Regions from separate parts of the Homo sapiens genome. Here region 1 is linked to region 2. The links are contacts of gene promoters, found by promoter capture Hi-C in human tissues and cell types (Jung and others, 2019). All regions are on one chromosome and are shown on one strand. Each heading gives the region's core, a stretch centred on a gene start or on the middle of the fragment in contact. The rest is flanking DNA. Distances are from core to core; before and after follow the strand shown.

Region 1 (5,801 bases), core at 381-2,880, 1.8 Mb before region 2:
ATTCTTGTTGGAGACTATAGTTAGAGTTCTCTTAGAGTATTAATATACAAAGTTGTTAACTTTCAGTCCCTACAAGAAATATGGCAGTTAATTACATGAATTATCATGCTCACATTCACTACACAGGTAAATAGATGCTATCTGTGTAGATATGAATGTATGCCAAGGCCCAATCTCTATATACCTTCCATACTTGAGTACCTATCCTGAGAATAGCTAACCCAGCCAGATGAAGAAGTGCTTCTTTCCCCTCTATGTTTTCATAGTGTAAGGTTTTCCTACTCTCAGTGTTGCTCTACACTTCATTTTGTGATAGTCAATCAATGTTACCTACCAAGCTCCACGCTTATTCTGCCAGTCCAGGTGAATAGCAAGACAAGCAATGGGAAGCAGGGCGGAGCGGGGAGGGGGAGGTGGGGGAGGGCGGGGTCTACATTTAAATCTCCTCATCTGTCTCTTGTGTAATTCCTCACCTTAACAATCCTTCTCCAATCCTTTGCTGAAAATCTTACCTTCATAAAAATTACCTACTCTAACTACTCTATGTGATGGTGCACCTTTCTCTCCCAACTCATGAACCACCTTTCTCTGCCCTACCTTTTGTTCATCTAACAGCACCATTTCTAACCAATTACATAATTATGTACATTTATAATTTATTATCAGTCTCCCAACACACACACACATATACATGTGCAAACAGTGTAGATTTCACATTCCACAAGGGCAAATATATAAGGTTGTTTTGCTCTGTCATCTATTTTGGCACGAAGATAATGTCTGGCACATAAGAGACACTCAAAAAATAATTAATGAATGAATAATGGCAACACATCTACCCAGTTATGAATGTGGAAATCTCAGACTCTGAATTTGTCCCTTTACCTCTTGCATGAATTCCCAATTTATCTCTTTCTGGTCCTTCCAGTTCACTCTTACTATTCTCTCCCTATTCCTTGCTGGGCACTTCTAGTTAATAGTTAGAGGTTATGTGATAATTACACAACCCATTTTAAGGAGTGTCCCATCCTTTATACAGCAGCTAAAGTTACTTTTCCAAGAAGTATTTCTGATCATGCAGCTCTTCTTAAAATCCTTTAGAAGTTCAAAGTCACTAGCTTTGCATGGAATTAAAGGTCCTTAATCATCTGTCTCCTGCCTGGTTTGCAGTGTCATCTCCAGCCATGGCAACATTATAGATCATGTCCTCCAACCATCTTCAAAAACACTGAACTCCCCTTCATTTATTTCCTTTGAAAGGCTTCCCAGGCCTTCTCAATATTGCAAAGTCTAGTTTTAGCACCTATTCTCTCATGTTTACTTTGCCTTTTTCCTCCACTCTAGACAATGTGCTCTTGGAAGCAAGACACTACATCATTTACTTTGGCCTAAATACAGTGGACATCCATAAATGCTTGTTAATTAAAGTTATTCAGCCTCTTTGAGCTCAGTTTCCTCACTTGTTAAATGATTTTTACCACCTACAAAGAGGATTCCTGGGAGAAACAAATAAAACATTATACATTGAAAATTCATAGCACTTAATGGTCACTGAATGTTATTAATCCTTCTTAAGACATATCATGGGCTCCATTTCAATTACCTCACCTACAGCGCTTAAATAAAAAATAGACAGGACAAGAAATAAGAGAGGCATGTTTGGTTTGTTTGCTCATTAGATGTTTTTTTTTTTGTTTTTTGTTTTTTGTTTTTTTTAAAAAAACCACCCTGCTTTTTTTTTTTCAGTATTAACAATTGAGCTTTATGATGTAGAAGCTAAGATACTCTGTCATGTCCAGTTATATGCTTGGAAAGAAACTGGACTGGAATTCATGATTAATCCTCAGGATTGAGACAAGAAATGAAAATGTGGCCAGACAGCTAGGGGTGCACTCTTAGCATATTGTTGGGAGGCCCTGGCTCCTTAAGAGTTTCCCAGCACGGAGCTTTAGTCCTCTCCATCCCTGTCCTTTCTTTGTTAAAACGTCTATCCCCACATCTAAAGAGCACTTACTAATCAGGTATCTTTTGGTTTAGTCTTTCAGAGTGTGTGGCTGTTAGTTCTGAATGGCCCTAAGTGCTTTTTTGTACTTAGTGGAGCCAACTTAGCCATTCACAGAGAAGCAATCTCTCTATAAATGAACAGATTTTCACACGTGGGCTGTAATATATGCATAACACATTTCTCGCGGTGTTAATTTTGGTCTAACATCCTCCTGTTGGTCTTGATTACCTTGGAGACTTACATCCTGTCTTCTGTATATATGTAGTTGTTAGTCACTTCTACTAAGTTGTCTCACCACCATTTCTCAAGAATGATAACAGAAGACACAATATTTCAATAACTGATTTTTCCTTTCAACAAATGTTCATTCAACCTCCTGTTTCCAGACATCGTACTAAGGCTTAGTCAAATCTAAACCTCGTGTAAAACTCTAAAATGCTGTAAAGGTCCAGCTAACTTTGTAGTAAAAATAAATGGAATCATTTCAGAATATTAATTGAATGTTTTTTTAAAAACAATACTAAGTAAAATGTAAATCTGAATATAGGTTCACTTCAAATTTATTATCGTTTTTCTAAAAACTGGAAATCCTAGACTGTTGTTTATTATTAGTCATATTATTGATATGGCTGCAAGTCAAACATAATCTGAATTGAACGTATCTTGAGAAAACAACAGCATACGAATAAATATGGTGAGACAGTATGGTGATAAATGCCATTTGGGATAGCATATTAATGGTGAAAAAATAGATAGCAATTTTTTAATTGGGAGTATTAGAAGCTTTATCCATTTTGCTTATTTTATTCATGGTGTGCAAATCAAATAGATGGACGACTGGACACAAATTCTGTGTAAATGATCTATATTGTGACAAATCGCAAGGCATCTGGTTAAGTGAGATATCTCCCTTGGGAAATAAAACGAAACAAGAAGTGTTTTTCTTCTTAAAAATCTGTACCCTGGTAGATAGGATCCAACATAAAATTAAACATCTCATCTAACTTTTCCAATGCCATGTTTCCAAAAGGAAATTACATTAAATTTGTCCATTCAAAATGCAAAAAGCAAGACATCCAAGAATGAGGTTTGTAGCAGAATGTAATTTTAAAGACATGATTTTTCTCCATTACTGGAGATATCAAACATTTTAAAAGCCTGTTCTTTCCTAATTGGATTCCAGATCATTATTTTTTTGGCCAAAAAAGAAAGGTTTTCTGCATTCTTAAAATAATTAGGCAAGATTTCAAATCAAATTATCCAATTTCAAACCTCTATTTTTCTCTCTAAAACGCCTGTTAGAGGAGGACTGCCGATGACTAAGCTTTGTGTCATTCTCATGGCTTTATTAGGAGAATGTTCTAAGTCCTTCACTTTCTATGTAATCAGAACTATAATTTCTTCAGGTTATTTTAAGACCCAGCTATGGCTAAAGCAGGAAACTCAATTTTATTCTGAGCTGTAGACATGTCGACACAGCAGAGCAGGGCTCCAGCTTTCTGGGCTATCTTCTTTCATAAACCCTCTTGCTTGGTGTCAGACCAAGGCTCTAGGCTAGTTGTACTTACTCTCTGGGTGTCAGGTAACTGTTTCCAAGACATTTACGGTAGTAGGACTGTTATTTTGGAAAATATGTGTTGACATATTATTATTCTACAAATGAACAGCTTACTTGTCCAGAGAGCACCACTCTTCATTACATCAATTCGAAAATCATATTCAACAGAAGGGCAGTTGAGAAAACCCAGGTGCCAGAAACATTTGATAAAAAAGCAGAACAGAAAGCTCATATGTCTACATGGTTCATCATACTCCCTTAGAATTTTATAACTTAATTAACCAACTCCATTTAGGCTTGCTTAGTTGCCTCTAATTATTCAGAAAAATTTTCTGTGTTGCAAAGTAATATTAATAGTGAGTGACATTTCTGCAAGTAACAGGTAACCTATTTCTTCTATAGTTGTGATATATAACTAAGTAAAGAAAGGAGAATAGGACAGTATAATAAAATAGAAAAAGTTACCTGCAAGAGGTGGTCTTCAGAATGAAAAGAAAAATATAGCATGATTACTTTAATATTTTGATGTATATCACGAAGTTTCTCACAGATACGTAAATTAATCTTATTCCTGAAGTAAACTTATTAATACTTTTAATTATTAATAAACATACTGATATAAAAACACTTTATTGAACTGTGATTTTCATGCTAGCATTTTTTTTCTTTGGGTTAAAATACTTTTACTACTTTTCTGCTCCTACTACAACAATAAAATAATGGAAACAAGTACCATGAATCCATTAGTTGAGCTTACTATGCTATATGTACTGTATACCATTCTACATTTTTTTGCATTCATTAATATATTGAGCTCATCCTTCTATGTTAATATCTTCAGACATTACTTAATAACTTTAATGACTTGTATTTCAGAGTATGGATTATGTATTGACTTATAGTTAGATTGCCCTCAGTTTTCCATTATTATAAATAAAACTGCTGATAAATATCCTGGTACATAAATTATTGTGAATTTGTGCAAGTATTTCTGTATACCAATTAAGTGGAATTACTAGATTGTTGGGTGTGTAGATTTTTAATTTTTATAGTACTGCCAATTTATGCTGCTCCAAAATTTGAACAGTGTGCTCTTCCACTAATACATGACAACACCCCTTTCCTCCAAACCACAATCAACACTAAGCATTATCTAGTCATTTATTTTTACTCCCATAATGTTGACAAAAATGGCACCTCATTGATGTGTTAATCATGACAAAGATTGATCATCTTCTCGGATACTTACTGCCTATTTTTGGTTATTCCTTTGTAAATGTCTTATTCATAGCCTTTGATTATTTATCCACTGAGTTACTGGTATTTCTTACTGATTTACAGTTTATATTTCTGCTTTATAGATATTAACCTCTTGAGCATTTAATATATGGTAACTTTTTATTTGTCTGTCATGTAATAAAAAATAGTGTCATAATTTGTCATTTAATTTGTTTCTGACTACGAAGAATACCAAGTCAACAATTATTCTTTTTTAACTTTCTCTAGATAGGATTACACTGACCTAGATCTTTCCTAGAATGAGTTGTGATGACATCACATAAGCTCATTAATATAAATAGAAATATTTTTCCAAGGCACAATGTCTAAACTATATTTTTTGCTGGCATCATTTTCATATTGATCTATGAAGTAGGGTCTTCAAACTAAACTTTAGGTTAATTCTATACATAGTATTTATCAATCACTTAGAGCCCACAGATGTTTGCAAAACTAATAATACAGACACTGGGCTTCTGGACATAAAGATTCAATTTCTACCACACTATAGCTTCAAGGGGCAAACGACACATCCCACAGCTTCATACACGTTTGATTTCATTTTGGAATAAGAGAATCTAGAAAATAAACATTTCACATGTCGGAAGCCTTTTCCTTGAAATATCAAAAACACTTTAATGTTTTAAGGTATGCTTTCCAAAATGGGTTAGATACATCTCTGATTTTAAAGATATCTATGACATGGAGGAGCCAGCCAGGGCTATTACTGGCCTTTCCGTAACTGCATTGTGAAACTGTGGTTCCCTCAGGGCCAGTTAAATACAGCAGTCGGCTTTAATGGAGGTGGGACAAGCTTTTGCATTAATTTCTCGACCTTTTCTATATTTGGAAGATGGGTTGGTTTTCTTTTTGCTTTTTATTGTGTGCTGTGGCTCTAGGTAAGTCTTTAGGTAGTCTAAATCTAGTAAACTCCCCTGCTTGTAATCTATGCCTTTTAGT
Region 2 (5,860 bases), core at 862-3,361:
TATGTCCCTTTAGAATCACCTTTCTTTCGCCTCACTTTCCTGATATACTCTAAATACAACTAAAAATGATGTCTAGAAAGCAAGGAACTTCATTTTAAAATAACTTGCCTTTTTAAAAAAGATTATACATTGATATAGACCCTTCAGTGAAGTAAGTATGCAAAGTAGACATTCCACTCTGTGTAAGCAGGCACTGTAAGACTAAGTGTCTGGCAAACAGATGACTAAATCATTGGCAGAAAAAAAACAGAACTCAGGTCACAAAATAAGGAATTTAAAGTTCCAAGCAGGCCACTCACACTGATTTAAAAAAAAAAAAAAAAACCCTAGAGAACTGGTCAGCATTTACTTAATAAACAGCCAGGGTGATAAGCATACCTCAGGGTGATACAGATGAATTTTGATCTGAAACTTGACATGTATCTCCAAGGAACTGTATCACCAGGTGTTCTAAAATTTTTTTCCCAAGTCTACTATTAATGACCATGTTGACCAGATTCTTACTAACTAGCCATAAAAGCGTACTCAATGCCTGTTTCTGTCTTGCCTTCAAAGCTTGCAGTCATGTTCACATACAAAGGAACAGTAAAGGTAAAATGACCCAACCTCCTTCTCCTGTTGGTGACCACAAGGCAGCCTCTCTATTCCAAGGAGGTAATCTAAGCTTGCACAGATGGCCTAGCTCTCTGCTAATGCAGGGGTGCTGGGTTTGTTTTCAGGGTGGGTGCTGCAAAGCGCCAGGTATATTTATAGAAGGGAGCAAGACTACTATGGAGGGATGATGACAGAAGAGGAAGTTTCTTCCGCCCGGTAGAGACAGCCTGTGGAAAGATCTGGATTCCACAGCCTAGGTTCCACTCCTGACTCGTCAACTACCAGCTATGTAAACTTACTAAAACCTTTTTGGTCTGTTACCTTATGTATAAAATGCAGATAATGCCCCATTCCCTCAGAAGGTTGTCAGAATGATGAACGAGCATTGTGTATGTAAAACCTGGGACGTGATAGGCATTCAATAAATGTCGATCTGTCCTGCCCATCCTCCTGTTCACCCAGAATTGCGCCTCAAAAAATCACAAAGAGAGCCTGCAGCGTTAAAACTAAGAGGCCCAAGCTGGTTGGCAGGGAAAGAAACGACTTGGGTGGGGGCTCGCTTATTTCCTGGAGGACTTGGTTTAAAATGGAGTTAGGATATTGATCATGGACAAGACACACAGAAAAAGCACCAAGTACTAGCAAAACTGACAACAACAAAAACAAAAAGACATCCCTTTACTGTGAGCACGAAACAAACTTCGGAAGCAGCGGACATCCTGTGAACCTACTCAGTGGCCTCAATTAAAATCCCGAGGGTACCAAGAGCTAACCCAGAGGCACACCAGCCATATGCCGCCTCGTCAGTTTCAGGCCACGCCATTCCGCAAAACTGTCCGCAAGCCCTGACGGCTCTCGCGCCTCCACGCCTGGCCCAGATGCGTCTGGATGTCAGGAGCGAGCGGCAGAAGGGTACGGGGTGGGAAAGCGGAGAGGTCCGGTTGAATGTTTGAAAAACAAGGCGGTGGGTGAGGGGGCGGGGTGGAGCAATGTGGCAGAGACGCGGCCAGCGAGCCTGAGAGACCGCGGCTTCACAATGAACGAAAGGAAGAGACTGCGACAAGCGCCGGCGCCCGGTCCCCGGCGGGGACGGATGGTGAGGCCGGGGGCGCGCAGACGTGGGAAGCCGGGAAGGGGGCGCGGGATGCAACGAGTGAGTCGCTGACCAGGCAGGGAAGCCAAAGAGCTCCCAAGCAGGTGCAAAGCCCCCAAGCGAGCAGGAACGGACTGGGGATACTCACGGTGTAAAGCAGGTTGAGGGCGCACAGGCAGTTCTTGGAACACGCGAAGCCCCCGCAAACCATCTTGGAACCTGTGGTTGCCGGCAGCTGCACGTAAATTCGACTCCGGCGGAGGTTCCCTGACAGCTGCTTTGTCCTTGCCTTTGGGGCCTGGCCCAGGCGGGGCAGCAACGCAGACGTGGGTGGGGGGCCGGGGCCTGGGGCTGCAGTGCGCGGCGCGCGCGCGGCGGCGGCTCGGACCCGCTTTGGAACCTGCGGCCGCCGCAGCTGAGCCGGAGCAGGAGCCCGAGCCCCGCCCAGCCCCTTCGTCTCGCCCCGCGCGCTGATTGGCCGCTGGCAGGGAACAAAGGTAGAAATATGCAAATAAATGCGCTCCGCCGACCGGGATCCGGGAGGGGCGGAGCGGTCCCGGGGCGAGGGGGAGAGGGCCAAGGCCGTGTGGGAGGGAGCCCCAGGCCAGAGCGGCGGCCTTGGTGTAGTTTCCCCAGGAGCAGGTGAGGAGGGAGGGCGGGGCTCGGAGGAGATCCACGCTGGCAAGGAGAAATATGACAGCACCTCTGGATTCTTGGCCCTGGCAGATGACGTGGCACCATTTTGAATGAGATTTCAAAACTAAGCACCTGGCCTTGTTTGAGGGAAGGAAGGCAGGAAGCAAGTAATGAATGAAAACATGTGAAAGATTTAAAAGAGAACGAAGTAGAGGCAAATGAAAGGGAGAAAATAAGTGAAACAATAAAAAATAAAATAAAATCCCTGCTTCTCTCAGAAAATAAGATATGTGCCCTATAATTGTGACCTGGACAGGTCAGACTTATCCTACAAAGATTTGCAAAATACTAATAAACTTTATGAATACATGCATGCAAAGGAAAATCAAGAGCGGGAGAAGGTGGGGATGGTTAATAGGTCCAAAAAAATAGAAAGAATGAATAAGACCTACTATTTGATAGCACAATAAAGTGACAATCGTTAATAAGAACTTAATTGTGTATTTTAAAATAACTTAAAGAATGTAATTGGATTGTTTGTAACTCAAAGGATAAATGTTTCAGAGGATGGATACCCTATTCTCCGTGATGTGCTTATTTCACATTGCATGCCTGTATCAAAACATCTCATGTACCCCGTAAATATATACATCTGCTACGTGTCAACAAAAGTTTTTTAAAAAATTTTAAAAAGAAAATCAAGAGAGATTATTTTTGTGTTCTGGTCGTGAATTTCAATAAACTTATTTTTTCACAAAAATAACTGAAAATCTTCAAATAACTCAGACTTCACCTCAATTAATTCATTATCAGTTTACTGCTTCTCTACTATAGAAATGCATCTTGTATCCTTAATTCCTCACCTATAAATTGAGATTTTAGAAGTATGTCAAGCACTTTTTGCATAGTGGCTGGCACAGGGGAAGGCCTCAATAAATGTCAGCTAGTATTCATAGATCTGACATTTTGTAAAGGCCTACTGTGTTCCAGGCACTAAGCGAAGGCAATAAAGGTTTATTTACTTCATAGTAGTTTCTACCAAAGAAAAAGGTTTTATAAAGAGATTTGCAAGTTTACAATACTATATCTAACCTAAAGGTTCATACGGAGTAAATTATGTAATTGCAAATGCTAAATTGTATTAAATTAAATTAAACATTGCAGCTGATTAAAATAATTCGTCTTCTTAGAATTCTCTGCTCCCTCTTCCAGCCTCTCCTTCCCTCCCCTGACCCCACCATACCAACAAGACCTCATTAATTTGTTAGGCTTTCTATTCCACATTAACCTTTTATATACAGCTAGAAATATTTCAAAAACTAACCTGGAAAATGATCCTCAAACACAAACAATGCTTTGATGATGCTCAACTTTCCTTTTTAATAGCCAGAGGTTTACAAAAGATGAGGCATTGGCAGGGAAATCTATTCATTCTCTTCCCATTCCTGGGTGTCACCAACATTAGTACCACTTCAACTATCACTCAACCAACTATTGCAACTCTCTCTTTGGCTTCTGCATAATATCTTCACTATCTCCCTATAGGCTGAATCACTTTGTTTTCCCAGAGAAGTACCACCTATCAGTCAGGGTCCCAGCAAAAAGGAGATGACTCGTTCAAATAGCATAACTGAGAAGAATTTCAAAAAGGGACTATTTTCAAAAGTGTGGACAAAGTTAAAGGAAACCGGCTGGGTGCGGTGGCTCACACCTGTAATCCCAGCACTTTGGGAGGCCGAGGGTAGTGGATCACCTGAGGTCAGGAGTTTGAGACCAGACTGACCAACATGGTGAAACCCCGTCTCTACTAAAACTACAAAAATTAGCCAGGCGTGGTAGCGGGCACCTGTAATCCCAGCTACTTGGGAGGCTGAGGCAGGAGAATCACTTGAACCCAGGAGGTGGAGGTTGCAGTGAGCCAAGATCGCGCCACTGCTCTCCAGCCTGGGTGACAGAGTGAAATTCTGTCTCAAAAAGAAAAGGAAACCAACAAAGCATGATGAGGCAGCTCAGAGATAGTAAGAGCAGGAAGTTCTAATTACCCCTAAGACTAAGGGGGTGATTTAAGGGAACAGTTACAGAAGCCAGGCAAGAGCTATAGTTGTAGGAGAGTTGTCTGATAGGAGATACGGCTTTTGATAGAGGAAACAAAACAATGTCTGAAAATAGGAAAACAAATGGACATGTTGCAATTTCTCCTGATTTGGATATAGAAATTTTCAAAAGACCATTTGTTCCCACCCTAATAAGAACAAGCAGTCTGGACAACATAGTGAGACCCCATCTCTACTAAAAATTGAAAATATTAGCTGGGTGTGGTGGTGCATACCTGTAATCCCAGCTATCCCAGCTACTCAGGAGCCTGAGGGGGAAGGATTGCTGGAGCCCAGGAGATCAAGGCTGCAGTCAGCTATGATGGCGCCACAGCACTCCAGCCTGGGTGCAGACCAAGACCCTGTCTCAAAGTAAGTAAAAACAAGCTAGATAAGCTACCAAATCATACTTACAACAAAAAACTATCGAAGAACTGAGGGGCTAAAGGCACTAGAGGAACTAAAATCCAAGAAGTGATGAGACATTATTAGAGGGGGAAAAAAACTCATAGTCACTTTCATCTCTTATAGACTGGCTGTGGAAGGGAGAAACTACCTTTGAGAGGGATAAGGAGAAACTAAATGACTATTTAACCATCTTCTACTGCCCCTACCTGGACTATGTGACAGTTTATAATCCAGAGCCCCAGCTACAGAATGACTGCAACTATTTGCCAGCTCTAACCCATGGGCTTTCTTTTAAAACAAGACATATAAGCTACAAAGGCCGTGGTCAGGCAAGATTGCTGCATTAGTTCGTTTTCATGCTGCTGATAAAGACGTACCTGAAACTGGGCAGAAAAAGAGGTTTAATTGGACTTATATTTCCACATGGCTGGGGAGGCCTCAGAATCATGGTGGGAGGCGAAAGGCACTTCTTACATAGTGGTGGCAAGAGAAAAATGAGGAAGAAGTAAAAGCAGAAACCCTTGATAAACTCATCAGATGTCATGAGACTTATTCACTATCACGAGAATAGCATGGGAAAGACCGGCCCCCATGATTCAATTACCTACCCTGGGTACCTCCCAAAACATCTGGCAATTCTGGAAGATACAATTCAAGCTGAGATTTGGGTGAGGACACAGCCAAACCATGTCAAGTGCTAATAGATATTCTTCATCTCCAACTATTTCAAGGTGTATAAGCCTTCCCCAAATGCAAGATAGTGGCTAAAAGCTGGGGTAAAGTGAGGAAAAATAAGAAAAATTCCAGCAAAGCAATCTGGTTCTTTAACTCCAGGACTAACGTAGCAGCAGAAAAGAAAACTCTCTCTATGGTACACTGAAAGAGCCCTCCAATGGCTGGAATAGGATTCCACACAGGATAGCAAGAGATCTCACAAGATACAGAAAGCCAAGGATGTGAGTGGAGAGCAAAGACTATTCCCCAGCAAACAAAAAGGTAGCAGGCTGTAAAGCACAAAGATCTCCCAAGGCTCAGA

The links. Contacts are between HindIII fragments. The study calls those that stand out against the background at their distance.
Region 1: a contact is called between a fragment that was not itself captured here and the fragment with the promoter of TSPAN13 in region 2, in 1 of the 25 tissues and cell types used here (dorsolateral prefrontal cortex).

What each region holds. Positions count from the first base shown.
Region 1 is chr7:18,518,510-18,524,310 of GRCh38, reverse strand. The region is part of intron 2 of HDAC9 (histone deacetylase 9); the gene reads right to left. Among named protein-coding and RNA genes, the nearest start is that of HDAC9, 26 kb to the right of the region's middle. RefSeq lists a silencer at 2,065-2,144. The HindIII fragment of the contact is 5,725 bases long and covers 1-4,492 here.
Region 2 is chr7:16,750,006-16,755,865 of GRCh38, reverse strand. It overlaps TSPAN13 (tetraspanin 13), which reads right to left and starts at 2,111. Exons shown (of 6, transcript NM_014399.4): 1 at 1,836-2,111. The coding sequence starts at 1,898. The HindIII fragment of the contact is 15,712 bases long and covers 1-5,860 here.